Linked DNA regions of Homo sapiens: region 2 is linked to region 1. The links are contacts of gene promoters, found by promoter capture Hi-C in blood cells and fetal thymus (Javierre and others, 2016). All regions are on one chromosome and are shown on one strand. The core of a region is centred on a gene start or on the middle of the fragment in contact, and the rest is flanking DNA. Distances in the headings are between cores, read along the strand shown.

What was found. The method cuts DNA at HindIII sites, captures the fragments that hold promoters and counts their contacts. A CHiCAGO score of 5 or more calls a contact.
Region 2: a contact is called between the fragment with the promoter of NAA10 here and the fragment with the promoter of CCNQ in region 1, in 3 of 17 cell types (neutrophils, non-activated CD4 T cells and naive CD4 T cells). The highest score is 7.2, in neutrophils.

Annotation. Positions count from the first base shown.
Region 1 is chrX:153,596,258-153,603,576 of GRCh38, forward strand. CCNQ (cyclin Q) reads right to left here and starts at 2,882. Exons shown (of 5, transcript NM_152274.5): 1 at 2,705-2,882. The coding sequence starts at 2,816. It overlaps LOC105373383 (a long non-coding RNA gene), which reads left to right and starts at 3,083. Exons shown (of 1, transcript NR_131982.1): 1 at 3,083-3,636. RefSeq lists silencers at 2,593-2,952, 2,963-3,012, 3,113-3,252 and enhancers at 4,393-4,894, 4,895-5,394. The HindIII fragment of the contact is 8,000 bases long and covers 1,594-7,319 here.
Region 2 is chrX:153,933,787-153,941,105 of GRCh38, forward strand. It overlaps NAA10 (N-alpha-acetyltransferase 10, NatA catalytic subunit), which reads right to left and starts at 1,251. Exons shown (of 8, transcript NM_003491.4): 1 at 1,098-1,251; 2 at 591-689; 3 at 157-215. The coding sequence starts at 1,118. It overlaps RENBP (renin binding protein), which reads right to left. Exons shown (of 11, transcript NM_002910.6): 9 at 6,316-6,447; 10 at 1,703-1,790; 11 at 1,483-1,618. The coding sequence ends at 1,500. RefSeq lists a silencer at 941-1,520 and enhancers at 1,511-2,016, 2,017-2,521, 5,659-6,423. The HindIII fragment of the contact is 15,713 bases long and covers 1-7,319 here.

The sequences.
Region 1 (7,319 bases), core at 1,632-4,131:
TTGGAATGGGCCCTAGCAGGTACAACCCTACTTGGACAAGGCTAAGAACTTCCAGCAGAGCCAGTGGCTCCTGCTGGGTCTCTTACTGGGCTCTCAGACTCTAGTGGGTGACCCAAGCCCCTGGGGATGGTGTTCAAATGCAGACTTCCCCTTTTGTAGGTCTGCGGCTCTGAGATTCTCCACTTCTGACAAGCCCCAGGTCATGCCCATGTCAGGGGTCTATAGACCACGCTCTGGGAAACAAGGGTTCCGAGGACCGCTCAGTTAGCAACTGGCATAGCAGCTTCTGCAAAACCCTGGAAAAGGACTATATGCTGTTGTGTGTCTGGGTTCACCTTAGCAAACAGCTAGCTAGAAGTCGCCCACCCCACAGCTACGACGACAGAAAAGAAACGGCCTCGTGGGTGCCACAAGTCCTGAAGTCACAGTGAAAGATTACACTGAGCACTGGTTTCGTAGTCCACAGGTTAGAAGAGGTGAGCAAAGCAAGCAGCGTGACTGCCAAGAGTAACCACTTGCATTGCAGAGAAAAGGCAATGTTTATGGCCACAGCCAGGCACCAGGGAAGGACACCAGCACATTGAAAAGTGGGCTGGGCATGCTGGTTTACGCCTGTAATCCCAGCACTTTGGGAGGCTGAGGCAGAAGGATTGCTTGAGCCCAGGAATTCGAGACCAGCCTAGGCAACAGAGTGAGACCCTGTCTCTACAAAAAAGAGAAAGAAAAAAATTTTTAAGGTGAACAAAACTCAAAACACCAGAGCAGGATTCAGTGGATTCTACTTAGGGGTTAAAGCCCATCCCCAGCCCATCCCTGAATGGCTCCTAAGAAAATCACTGCCCTGGTGCACAGAACCAAAACAAATTCACAACCACCAGGGTTCACAAGACAAGGTTAAATGACATCCACTAGGCCAAAACAGAAAGGCGAAGAACAACCGACAATCAACCATGAAATGACAGTCAGCATCCTCTGCCTAAGAAGGTAGATCAGTTCCCTAGGGCTACTGCAACAAATCACCACAAATTCAGCCACTTAAACAACACACATTTATACTCCTCCGATCCTGGAAGTCAGAAGTCCAAAACTAGCCTAGAAAGCTAAGATCAACGTCTAAGCAGGGCTGGCTCCTTCTGGAGGCTCCATGGGAGAATGTTTCCTTGCCTTTTCCAGCTTCTAGAGGAGGGCTGCATTCCTTGGTTGCTGGCCCCTTCCTCCATCTTCAAAGCTTCTAACTCTGCTTCTGTCCTCACGTGGCCTTCTCTGACGGTGACTCCTCCTGCCTTTGCCTTATAAGGATGGGTGTGGTTACACCCAGATAATCTAGGATGATCTCCCATCTTAAGGTCTCTAATCACATCTTCAAAATCTCTTTTGCTATATAAGATGACATTCACAGGTTCCAGGGATTAGGATAGGGACATCTTTGGGAAATCAATATTTAGCCTCCTACAAAGGACAAAGGATTGTGTAATACATTTTATAAAGAAGTCCCTCAGAAGGTCTAAACTTGTTATATAAAGACAATTCCTACCTGGGACCCCTCATTCCAGGAGATGCCAGATAAGGTGCTGTTACTGACATGACCTTCCAAGCTTTGTTTTACAGAGCAAACCCCAATTTACACGGACCCTCCGAGCAGACGGTAGCAGATGAGGTGTCACTGCCATCCTTCCCTAATAATAACTTTGCAACTCTTCTTGCAAATTACAGTAAATTTACATATCACTGGGATGAACAGTCCTGCAGCAGTCCTCAGACTCTCCGCCCACCTTGGGTAGAAAGCACATCTGCCCAACCCTTCTCCCCCAAGCAGTAAAGGTAGGAAATAACTACCCGCCAACTAACAGTATCTCCTATCAAGATACTGTTGATGGGCCGGACGAGGTAGCTCACGCCTGTAATCCCAGCACTTTGGGAGGGCGAGGCAACTGGATCACCTGAGGCCAGGAGTTCAAGACCAGCCTGGCCAACATGGTGAAACCCCGTCTCTACTAAAAATACAAACATTAGCCGGGTACGGTGGCACACACCTGTAATTCCAGCTACTCGGAAGCGTGAGGAAGGATAATTGCTTTAGTCCGGGAGACGGAGGTTGCAGTGAGCCGAGATCACGCCACTGCACTCCAGCCTGGCCAACAGAGCGAGACTCCGTCTCGAAAAAAAAAAAAATACTGTTGATGGCTGGATGGAAACGATGTTTCTACAGAGATCTTAGCTTAATCACCTCGCCTGGGAAGCGCGGAGCCCAACACTACTGTGGATGTCCTGGCAGGGTTCGGAACAGGAGCTGCAAGCAGCCTAGGTCCCCGGAGTGACAGGAACCCTCGGACAGCGTTCTCCAAAAGGCTCCGCGCGACTAAGCGCCATAAAGTCTACCGGAGTGCAGGGCCGCGGGTGCCGGCAGAAGGCGTGGCGCACTGCGCAGAGCTGCGGGCGCCCGGGCCGGTCTCCGCCTCGCTGGAGGCCCAACCCGGCCACGTCCTCTCCTAGGGCCTGCACACCGGTCCACGCCATGGGGATACCTCGCGGCTCACTGCTCAGCACACCGGGCGCGGCGCAAAGGCGGAGGTCCTCAGCCCCGAGCAGGGCTTCCCGGCCTCTGCTACGGTGAGCACTCCAGAAGGCCGGCCTGGCCAGCCGGGCCCGCTCCGCGAAGCGGGCCGCGGCGCCGCCTGTCCTGGCCTCCCCCGGCCGCGGTTACCTGCCTCCATGATGAACCTCGCCACTCGGAAGTGCACCCTGGCTTCGGGCGCCGGCTGCCCCTCCGGGCCCCGCGCTGCAGGCCCCCCTCCGCCGCCCTCCGGGGCTTCCATGAGGCGCCGCGGCACCGGCGGAAGGAGAGGCGGCCCCGGCGCGCAGAAGCCGGCAGAACTGGAGGTGCTCGCGGCGGGCGCTGCCGCCCCACCCGGCCGCGTCCGGCCCCGCCCCGCCCCGCCCCTCGCCGCCCCGCCCCGCCCCTCGCCGCCCCGCCCCGCCCCTCGCCGCCCCGCCGCTCCTCCGCCCCGCCCCGCCCCTCAGGGCCCTCGCCCAAGGGTGAGCGCGCGCTTGCGCCACAGACGCTGCCTGGCCGCGCGCGCAGGCGCAGGCGCAGGCGCAGAGGCCGACACCACGGGGCGGCTGGTATGTGTCCACCGGCCCCTAGGCGCCTCGAGCCCCGCCCCTGGGAGACGCAGGCTCCTCCCCGCGGAGCGAGAGCCCGCGGAGCTGCTCCGAGACCCGCGGGAGGGCACCTCCGGTCACCCGAGCCGCAAATCCCCGCCGTCCGAAGGGGGTGTCGCCCCGGGCTGTCGGCCCAGCGTGGCTTAGGCCAGGTACAACCGGCAGCGCCCGCCAAGCCCTGGGCTAGGGACGCCTGCGGGAGTTCACGGGGAGGCGCCGGTGTCTGAGGTCTGAGAAGACAGCGGCCACCGGAAAAGGTGCTAATGTTTGCAGACCCCGATCCATCGACACCCCAAGGAAATGCTGTGCACAAAATTCCAAGAGGGCCTTTTCGAATAGACGCATGAACGGTGTTTGTGTCTGGATCGTCCAGCCTCCCGGGATCGATTGGGAATCTAGCTTCTGCTTGCCTTTCCAGCGCGACGCACAGTAGGAGCCTAATAAATGTTTGCTGAATGAATGCTGAATATCGAACTCAGGTATTTACCATCTCATTTTTCATTCGCGTCTTCCACAAGCAGGAAATGGTGCATCAGGCTTTAGGGACATAGAACCCCAAAGGTACTCACTCCCAAGTTAGTGACAGTCACTGGAGTCATTCTGATACATTCAGATCATTGCTACAATTTCAGACAGCTGGCAATATGGAGAGGAAAAAGCTACTGCTCCCTAAACCCTTCTGCCCAGGCGCCTTGATCTCCTGATGGTGTGGAAGTCTCCACCTCTTACCCCCACCCCACACACCCAGTCCGGCCTCATTCTCCTTCCTCAGCACTTCCTGCCTCCACCAGCCTCCCCAAGTCCTCTCTCCATCCCAGCTGGGTTAGTTTCCTGGGGCTGCTGTAACAAATGACCACAAATTGGGTTGCTAAAAACAGCAGAAGTATATCCTCTCTCAATTCTGGAGGCCAGACACCTGAAATGGAGGTGACACTAGGGCTTTGCTCCCTCAAAGGCTCTGGCAGAGGATCAGTTCTTCCTTGCTCTTCCAGCTTCTGCAGCCTGAGTTCTTCCTGGGCTTGTGGCCCCATCACTCCAATCTGTGCCTCCGTCTCTACATGGCCTTCTCCCTGTCTTCTCGTCTGTCTCTTATAAGCACACCTGTCACTGGATTAGGGCCTACCTAGATAATCCAGGAGGAGCTCATCTTGACATCCTTATTTTCATTACATCTTGCAAAGGCCCTTCTGCTAAATAAGGTCACAGTAACAGGGATTAGGACACGGACACACCTTTTGGGGGCTGGCATTCACCCCACAATACCAGCCGCCAGAGCGAGCTTTCTAAAAGGCGAGGCTGAACAGGTCCTGCCCTGCCTAACACCCTCCGGAGTCCCTTCACCTTCAGGAGAAAATGTGAGGCCTTGACCTCACATGCTGGTCCTTGTGGAGTCACCCTATCAACTGACCAGCCTCGGATCTCACCACTTTGCCTCATGGCAGAGACCTTCGGCAGGTCCCCCAAAGGTTATGGTCTCCTGGCTGAACGTCTCTGCACGTATTCTGCCTGGTGAAGGAATTACCACTCCACTTCCATCACCCAGCTTGCTCTTGTCTGTATGTGCGCGGGTGTGCACGTGTGTGTGCATATGTGTGCGTGTGTGGACTGACTCAGGGTCCCCAGCTCCCTGTGCTGCTGACACCTGCCACGCCTTGAGCACCGTGTCTGTCTGCAAGCTGTGAGCAGCCCCACCCTCTTCCCCAGCCCAAGGCTGAAACCTAGGCAATGCCCAGAGGGCCCACCTCCCCTCAGCCCCGTTGGTGGAGGCCAGGTCCTGTGTTCCCCCAGACAGTGCCCTGGGCTGGACCAGCCACAGCTAGATCTGGAAGGCTCAAGCCCATGTTCCCTAAAGCAGCTATGGGCCTTGGGGGATCAGGCTGCTGCCTCTCAGCTTCCCCCACCACCACATCTGTGCACACTAACACACACCCCCATGCACACGCACACACATGCATCACACATCCCCCCCCCACATACACACATGCACACGTGCACATATGTGAACACCCCAATTCAAACAGTGCTTCCCTCTGGCCCCTGGTGGCCCGCCCATCCTCTAGGCACAACTCCTCCTTCTCCTCTGGGCCTTATGTGCTGAAAAGAGTCCGGGCTCAGCAAGTAAAAGGTGCCTGGGAATGTGAGCCGAGAGAATGACTCAATGAACACATGAATTTTAAAGCCCTGGGTCACCTCGGCGCAGTGGTTGATGAATGAATAATTCACTAGCCACCAACTGGAGCCAGCAAACCTTTAGGCAGCACCTCCTCTCCCACTGGCAAGCCTGTCCCCAGTGTCCCAAAGGTGGCATCCCCCGTCTCATCACCCCGGCTCAGATGGTGAGTTCCTTGAGGGCTGAAGCCTGGTTCTCAACCCCAGGCTCGACCCTGAGGTTGACAGTCACCATCAGAAGCGCGATTCTGTAATATTTGCCAACGCTTCCTTAGCTAATCCTCACCATGTGCCCATACATTGATTAAATCACAGCCTACCCCTCACAATAGCACTATTATGGAAAAGAGTGAGTGACTCATTTCAAGGAATAGGACTCGGGCTGAAGCTCAAAGGATGAGGCAGAGAAAGAGGGAAGAGGCATTTGGGGTCCAGAAGAGAGGCTGTGCACGGGCAGGGTCACTTGAAAGCCTGTGTGGTCTTCAAAAAGCATGGGCAATTTCCAAAGCACCCACCCTGCTCTGGTCTTCATCCTGGCAGCCTCATCAAAGTCCAGGCCTGCCACTTGTCCTTAGAAACTCCTCGCTGCCTGGGAACCTCCTGCCACAGTCACCTCTCCACTGTACCTTCCGAGCCAGCTCCCTGTCACCATCGGCAAGATCCACAGCCTCCATCTCTGTTCTCCCTCCCCGCTCCCCACTGCCTACCCACCCTTCATCTTTCTATTCAATTATTTATTTATTTATTTATTTATTTATTTATTGAGACAGATTCTCACTCTGCCGCCCAGGCTGGAGTGCAGTAGCATGATCTTGGCTCACTGTAACCTCCACCTCCCGGGTTCAGGTGATACTCCTGCCTCAGCCTCCTGAGTAGCTGGCATTACAGGCCAGGCGTGTGCCACCACACCCAGCTAATTTTTTGTATTTTTAGTAGAGACGGGGTTTCACCATGTTGGCCAGGCTGGTCTCAAACTCCTGACCTCAGGTGATTTGGCCACCTCGGCCTCCCAAAGTGCTGGAATTACAGGTGTGAGCCACAAAACCTGGTCAGATTGTAACTTTTTGGTGAATCTTCTGCCTGGTATTATTTTCTTTTTCAGCGATTTGAGTAACCAGGAGCTCAGTAGAGTAATTGAGCAAGCTCTGAGCATGCACGGGATCTTGGGTGTGACCAAGTTGGACCTAAGGAGAAGTGGTGCCAGTTGGGCATGAGGGCCGGAAAATCCACCCCAGCAATAGATGTGTGGGAGACTGAAACCAGATGAGTGGGTGCCAGGGCCAGGGAGGGAGCACAGGGAGTGACTGCTGATGGAGACAGGGGTGACAAGGATGTTCTGGAATTAGATAGTGGCAATGGTGGCACAACTCTGTGAATGCTTTAAGTGGGTGAATTTTATGGTATGTGAATGATATCTGAGTAAATCCATTATTTTTTAAAACTACCACATGCAATCGGGCCACTGAGGACAAAATCTTCTTATGGGGAGAAGGGGTTTCACAAGGAAGAGCTGGGAGACTGGCCAGCAAAGAAAGTCGGAGGGCAGAGCAGCTGGAAGAAGCGGGCAATGTTACGGAGCCAGGAAGCTCTCAGAAGGGCCAAGTGAATGCAAGGAGCTGAGAAACCCAGGGCGTCAGCAGGACAGCCACAGCAAGGGTGGCCGGGCTGTCCTGGGCCTCCGATAGCCCAGGGACGACTCCTGATAGCAAGGAGGCGGTGCGGGAGGGGACCAGAGTGGGGTGTACCCTCAAAGTCCTGCAACGAGGTCAGCGAGGTCACCTCTGAAACAAGGCTCCGCTGCGATGGTTGGAGATGGGGGATCCTCATTGTGGGGGCGCACAGCAGCCAGAGTGGGAGCTGATGGAAACACCTTTGCCCGAAATCTGTCTCCTAGGCAGCCCCTGAGCCCCTCCTGTGATGAGCAGCTGGCTCCCCGTCTCGGGTGGGTGAAGGCTCCTGCAGCAGGAGGCACCTTGTGGAAGCTCCTG
Region 2 (7,319 bases), core at 1-2,500, 340 kb after region 1:
GCTGAGGGGTGCTATAAGAACTCCATGTCCTTTCTGTTCAATTTTTCTATAAACTTTCAACTGTACTGAAAAGAAGAAGCCTATTCATTTTTTTTAAAGCCCACAGAGGCATCCACCAGACACGTGTAGCTTCTGTCTTCCTCCTTGGTGACTCACATTTTGGCCAGGACATACCCCACAATCTTCCCATTCTCGTCCTCAGCAATGTAAGAGAGCTGGTGACAGGAAAACAGAGTGAGAAAACTTCTTGTCGGAGCTAGAAGAGCCCTTTAGAGGGACACAAACTGGACGAGTGGCGAGTTGTGTGATGGCTCATGACCTCCGGGCTGAGTGGCTTGGTCTCCCCCTCGCCACACTGTGCCCTGCCCATACCCAGAAAGAAGACGCAAAGTGGGGATCCTGCCCCTATTCTCTGCTCCCTTCGGGCGCCTTCTTTTCCTTTGCCCCTGTCTGCCAGCTGAAAACACCCAGGACGCCACCGACCATACAGCCCCCTGGGCTCTGACAGACTTGTCCACTCCCTCCAAGATGGCCAGATGGGATTTTCCTCGGCCTGCTTTCCCCCATGCCCAAATTCAGAAGCTGCCCACCTGGGGCCAGGAAAGGCCATGGTAGAAGTAGTATTTCATCTGGTAGTTCTCGGGCAGGCAGAGGAGGTTGCAGTGCTGCATGTTCATTAGGTCCTCTGGCTGCAGGGAAGGAGGGCAGTGGAACGCGCTCAGTCTAAGGCGGCGGTGACCACGGGTGAGAAGCCTGCTCCCCGTCGGTCTGCTCGGCCCCGCTCCCTCGGGGCTGGGCAGGCACTGTGACGATCTGACTTTGCACAACGCCCGGAGCACAGGAACAGGAGTGGGCGCCCCGGAGGTCCCCGGAGCCCACCCAACGGAGGCCCGACATCACGCAAACAGGAGGGAATCGCAGCCCCGGCCCCGCGCCCCGGCCTCTTCGGCGGGCTGGGCCAGCCCCATAGGTCCAGCGGCCGCAGGCACACTCAGGGCCACCGGGCCGGGCTCGGCCGGGGCCCTCGGGAGCATGCGCGGCAGCCACCCGGCCCGGCGCCCACGCGGCGCGGACAGCCTCCCGCCCCGGGCGCTCACCCTCGCATTGCGGATGTTCATAACGGCGGCGGGGCTCGCGGGTCCCAGCGGATCGTGAAGGCGCAGTCAGCTGCCGCCGCGCTCCGAAGCGACGCCGGGACGGCCGGGGCTGGGACCGGAGCTGGGCTCGCTGGGCGACGGCGGAAGGGGCGGTGCGCGCCGGGCCGGCCACCGGCCGGAAGTGCACGGCCGCCGGGCCCGTCCTCCCGGCCGCTTGGCCAATGCGCGGGACAGGCCAGCGCACGGGGCGGGCCAATGCGCGGAGCCGGTCAGCGCGGGGCGGGCCTGGGGGCGGGGCGGGCGCTGCCCCGGAGCTGGAGCCGGCCCCTCCCTCGGCGCGACAGCCCCCCTCCCGCGAGCCCACAGACGCGCGCACAGCCGCAGGTGGAGCGGACTCAGCCTTTATTCCGCGCCTCGGCAGGCGGGGGTGGGGGCGGGGGAGGGGGCGGGGGCGGGGCGGCTCAGCAGGGCGCCCAGCATCTCCTCGCACATGGCTAGGCACCGCGGCACGTGGAAGCAGCCTGCGGGTAGAGGCGGGCAGGTAGTGAGGGCCGGGGGCAGCCGAGAGGCGCAACCCCTGCGGCCCCGCCCTCTCCCCCACTCACCTTTGAAAGGACCTCCCTTGATGGAGAGGGCCACCTTGCCCTCTCGGCTCAGGTAGCCAAACCATTCCCCGTACTCGGGATCGCGAAACTGGAATAACAGAGACAGTGACAGCTAGCGCCTGCAGGACCCGCCCAGATGCCACTGCATCGCTACCAGGGGTCAGAGCCTGGGTTGACCCCAGGTGACGTGGCTCCAGAACCAGCGATCTTAACCGCGACACTGCGTCCTCCACAAAGATGAAAGCAGGGGTGGGCGCAGCAGGCAGGCTACAACTATATAACCGACTGGGCAAGGGGATGAGACACTGCTAGATGGAATGAAAGAACTCTGCCCTGGGGTGTAGAAACGTTGTCTATCGGGCCGGGAGCTGTGGCTTGCGCCTGTAATCCCAGCACTTTCGGAGGCCGAGGCGGGCGGATCACCTGAGGTCAGGAGTTCAAGATCAGCCTGGACAACATGGTGAAACCTCATCTCTACTAAAAATACAAAATTAGCCGGACGTGGTGGCACGCACTTGTAATCCCAGCAGTATACTCGGGAGGCTGAGGCGGGAGAATAGCTTGAACACAGGAGGCGGAGGTTGCAGTGAGCTGAGATCACGCCATTGCGCTCCAGCCTGGGTGACAGAGCGAGACTCCATCTCAAACAAACAAACAAACGAACAAACAAACAAACAAAAAAGTTCTCTATTGTGATTGTAGTCGTGGTTACGTTGATTCAAAGAAACAAAGAACCCGGCCGGGTGCAAAGGCTCACACCTGTAATCCCAGCACTTTGGGAGGCCGAGGCGGGCGGATCACAAGGTCAGGAGATCGAGACCATCCTGGCTAACACAGTGAAATCCCGTCTCTACTAAAATACAAAAAATTAGCCGGGAGTGGTGGCGGGCACCTGTAGTCCCAGCTACTCGGGAGGCTGAGGCAGGAGAATGGCGTGAACCCGGGAGGCGGAGCTTGCAGTGAGCCAAGATCGCGCCACTGCACTCCAGCCTGGGCAACAGAGCCAGACTCCGTCTCAAAAAAAAAAAAAAAAAAAGGAAAAGAAAAGAAACAAAGAACCCTGATGGAGGCGACGACCTGTCATGAAACTCTTAAGAAGTGACTCCCTTGGAGCTCCCATTCCCGGCTTCACAGGCCTGTCTTCCAGTAGATGCACAATCTCATCTGACTCCTGTCCTGGCTCACCATTGGTCCCAAACTCATCTCCTCCTCCCTCTGCCCCTGCCCAGTGCCCATTCCACTCTCTTTCCTTCTCTCTCCACTAGCATTCCATGGGGCACCTGTCTCAGGGAGGCTTGTCAGTTCAGCCCCTTCTCAAAAGGATCATGGACTCAATTACATTGAAGTCCACTATGAAAATGTCTCTTTAAATGGTGGCCCATAAGAGTTGGTGTATTCTTCTTTGTAGGAAGTAAAACTAGTCCTGGGCTGGGCACAGTGGCTCACGCCTATAATCCCAGCACTTTGAGAGGCCGAGGCGGGAGGATCACTTGAGGCCAGGAGTTTAAGACCAGGCTGGGAAACATAGTGAGACCCCATCTATACAAAAAAAAAATTAAAGAATTAGCTGGGCGTGATGGCACACAGCTGTAGTCCCAGCTACCTGGGTGGCTGAGGTGGAAGGATCGCTTGAGCCCAGGAGGTTGAGGCTGCACTGAGCCATGATTGTGCCACTGCACTCAGCCTGGGCGATAGAGACCCTGTCTCAAAAATAAATAAATAAATAAATAAATAAATAAATAAATAAATAAATAAAAACTAGTTCTGTGTGTATTCATTCTGTCTTTTGAGTTACATTGTTCAAGTCCTTACTTATTTTTTGACTGCTTGACATGACACAGGAAGGTAAAGAAGAATTTCCTTCAATGTCTGGATTTTTGCCTTCTGTATTCTGTTATGTTGGTTGATGCATAATGACTTACCTGTTTTTTTGTTTGTTGGTTAGTTTTTTGGTTTTTGTTTTTTTAAGACGGAGTTTCGCTCTTGTCACCCAGACTGGATGGAGTGCAGTGGCGTGATCCCAGCTCACTGCAACCTTCACCTCCCAGGTTCCAGTGATTCTCCTGCTTCAGCCTCCTGAGTAGCTGGGATTACAGGCACCCGCCACCAAGCCCGGCTAATTTATTTATTTATTTTTTTTATTTTTTATTTTTTTTAATGGAGTTTTGCTCCTGTTGCCCAGGCTGGAGTGCTTCCCGGGTTCAAGTGATTCTCCTGCCTCAGTCTCCCCAGTAGTTGGGATTACAGGCACCCGCCACCACACCCGGCTAATTTTTTGTATTTTTAATAGAGATGGGGGTTTCACCATGTCAGCCAGGCTGTTCTCGAACTCCTGACCTCAAGTGATCCACCTGCCTCGGCCTTTCAAAGTGCTGGAATGGCAGGCGTGAGCCACCGCGACCAGCCCAATTTTTGTATTTTTAGTAGAGACGGGGTTTCGCCATGTTGACCAGGCTGGTCCAGAACTCCTGACCTCAGGTGATCCACCCGCCTCAGTCTCCCAAAGTGCTGAGATTACAGGCATGAGCCACCATGCCCAGCCGATTTACCTGTTGATTATAACTTTTGTAATTGTTTAATGTCATCTATATCTTATTAAAATGTATTCCTTCAATTTCATTTTTGAGTTAGAACTGGTGGCCCCTAACACACACTCTATGAATGCATTAAATATTAAGATATAGCTGCAGGTCTAACAACCCTGCTGCTTTGGAAGTAGTGACGAATATATGTGATACTTGCAGATGTCTCTCTAACTGCAATGCAATGTAAACACATCTGGATTTCTATCGGTGACAAAGCCAGGCACTTCTATTACCAATGTGGTTCATTGCCTCCACTCATAATGGCAGCAAATGCTAGTTTCAGTTAGAGGTTAGTACAAATAAAGATGTGATTCTCCGCCCCCGGTTTCGAAGCTCACAGACCCCAGAATAAGATCCCCTGCTATAGTCCTCGCAGTACCAGGGTTCACCAGTGGAGTCGGAGTCGTGGCTTTAGAAACGCATGATGAATCTTCATTCATTCACCACCCAGGCCTTGCCACCACTGGGTGCCATGCCCTTTCCACTGGGTGCCATGCCCTTTCCACTGGGTGCCATGCCCTTTCCTGTGTTCAGCAGCTCGAGTTGCCTCCTGGGCAGCAGTCAAGACAGCTTATCACTCTGCTCCTAGCACTTGGGCTTCAGGGAGCCCCTGGCTTGGTTTTCTTCCTGCGTCACCACTGATTCTTGTCTCCTTTGCTGGGCCCCCATTTCCCTTTTTGCCTCATAGATCTCAGCAGCATCTGTACTGTTTTTTTTTTTTTGTTTTTTTTTTTTTTGAGACCAAGTCTTGCTCTTGTCCCCCAGGCTGGAGTGCAATGGTGCGATCTCGGCTCACTGCAACCTCTGCCTCCTGGGTTCAAGCGATTCTCCTGCCTCTGCCTCCCAAGTAGCTGGGATTACAGGCACCCACCACCACGCTTGGCTAATTTTTGTATTTTTAGTAGAGATGGGGTTTCACCATGTTGGCCAGGCTGGTCTTGAACTCCTGACCTCAGGTGATCCACCTGCCTCAGTCTCCCAAAGTGCTGGGATTACAGGCGTGAGCCACCGTGCCCGGCCTTTTTTTTTTGAGACATAGTCTCGCTCTGTTGCCCAGCCCAGGCTGGAGTGCAGTGGTGTGATCATAACTCATTGCAGCCTCAAACTGGGCTTAAGCAGTCCTCCTGCCTCAGCCTCCTGAGTAGCTAGGACTACAGGTGTGCATGACACCCAGCTAATTTTTTAAAATTTTTTGTAGAGACCAGGTCTCGTTATGTTGCCCAGACTGGTTTTGAAGTCCTCGGTTCAAGCGATCCTCCCGTCTCAGCCTGCCAAAGTGCTAGGATTATAGACATGAGCCACTGTGCCAGGCAGCATCTACATTCTTGTGATACTGAAAACATTCATGGTGAGTCCAGATCTCTCCGTCTGAACTGGAGACTCAGGAATCCCACTGCTGCTCCACCAGACTGTGAACCCTCTGTCCCCACCAGCTCCCACCTGGGCCAGCCCTCACTGGCTGGGATGACAGCTACAGCTTCCTCTGCTGTCCCAGCTTCTGCCCTGTTCCCTACAGACTTCCCCCATAACACCCTCCCCTCCAAGCCCCAGGACCCAGGTAACAATGGAATCAGACCAGGCAGCTGGAGTCCGTCCCTTGCCCACTCTGCCTTTATCCTCCCGGGCTGCCAGGCCCCCCTGCTGTGCCACATGCCCCACCCTGCCCAGACTCCCAGTCCCTCAGACACACCCCTGATTGACTCGGCCCCTGCTCAGTGCTTCCCTGCTGCCACCCCATAGGAAAGAGCCCCCCCACAACCCTCTCCAGTGGTATTATTCCCACAGCTGTCACTCTCACCACCACCTAGGTCTGCTTGCTTACACTCTGCTCCTCCCGCCCCCACCACCAAAATTCGAGCTCTAGGAGGGCAGAGGCTTCTTCGTTGACTGAACGAACAGCACTGGGGCTCCGGAAACTCTCAGACCAGCTGAGCGACTGTGCTCAGCGAGGGGGCAAGAGCGCAGCCGGGCCAGACTCCCCCCATTCCCCCATTCAGCCTCTAGAGGGGACAAGGAGGCAGCTCTCACCTGGCGGAAGGTGTACTCAGCCACTTGGTAGAAGAGGCGCAGCAGCACAGGGTCCCCACTGTCACTGTAACCCATGAGGAAGGCAATCATGGCTTCACTGTGTGGCCACCAGAGCTTCATGGCCCACTCCAGCTGAGGGGAGAGCAGGGGCAGGCATCTCAGCAGGAAACTCCCCTCCGCAACTTTCCAGACCTGGCTGCGTCTCCATTGGCCCAAGCTACTGGAGGTGAATTGCGGGACATCTTTGGAAGTTCTGAAGGACCCCTCCCAGTGATATCAGCTTCCTGACCTGTAGATTCTTGAATAGACACCAGGGCCCCAGACGAATGGCATATATGTCTGAGCATCAGCGTTTCGCCAGCTCCCTGGTGGCCTCCATATGACATGGTGTCAGAGGTGTGTAAACCAGAGCAACTCCATCTTAAACAGGAGCTGGGTCAAATGAGGCTGAGACCTACTGGGCTGCATTCCCAGACGGCTGAGGCATTCTAAGTCGCAGGATGAGATATGAGGTCGGCACAAAATACAGGTCATAAAGACCTTGCTGATAAAACAGGTTGCAGTAAAGGAGCCGGCCAAAACCCACCAAAACCAAGGTGGCGACAACAGTGACCTCTGCTCGTCCTCACTTCCAACAGTTTACAAATGCCATGGCAACGTCAGGAAGTTACCCTATATGGTCTAAAAAGGGGAGGCATGAATAATCCACCCCTTGTTTAGCATATCATCAAGAAATAAGCATAAAAATGGGCAACCAGCCGGGTGCGGTGGCTCACGCCTATAATCCCAGCACTTTGGGAGGCTGAGGCGGGCGGATCACCTGAGGTCGGGAGTTCGAGACCAGCCTGACCAACATGGAGAAACCCCGTCTCTACTAAAAATACAAAATTAGCCAGGCATGGTGGCCCATGCCTGTAATCCTAGCTACTCGGGAGGCTAGGGCAGGAGAATCGCTTGAACCCGGGAAGCAGAGGTTGTGGTGAGCCGAGATGGCGCCATTGCAC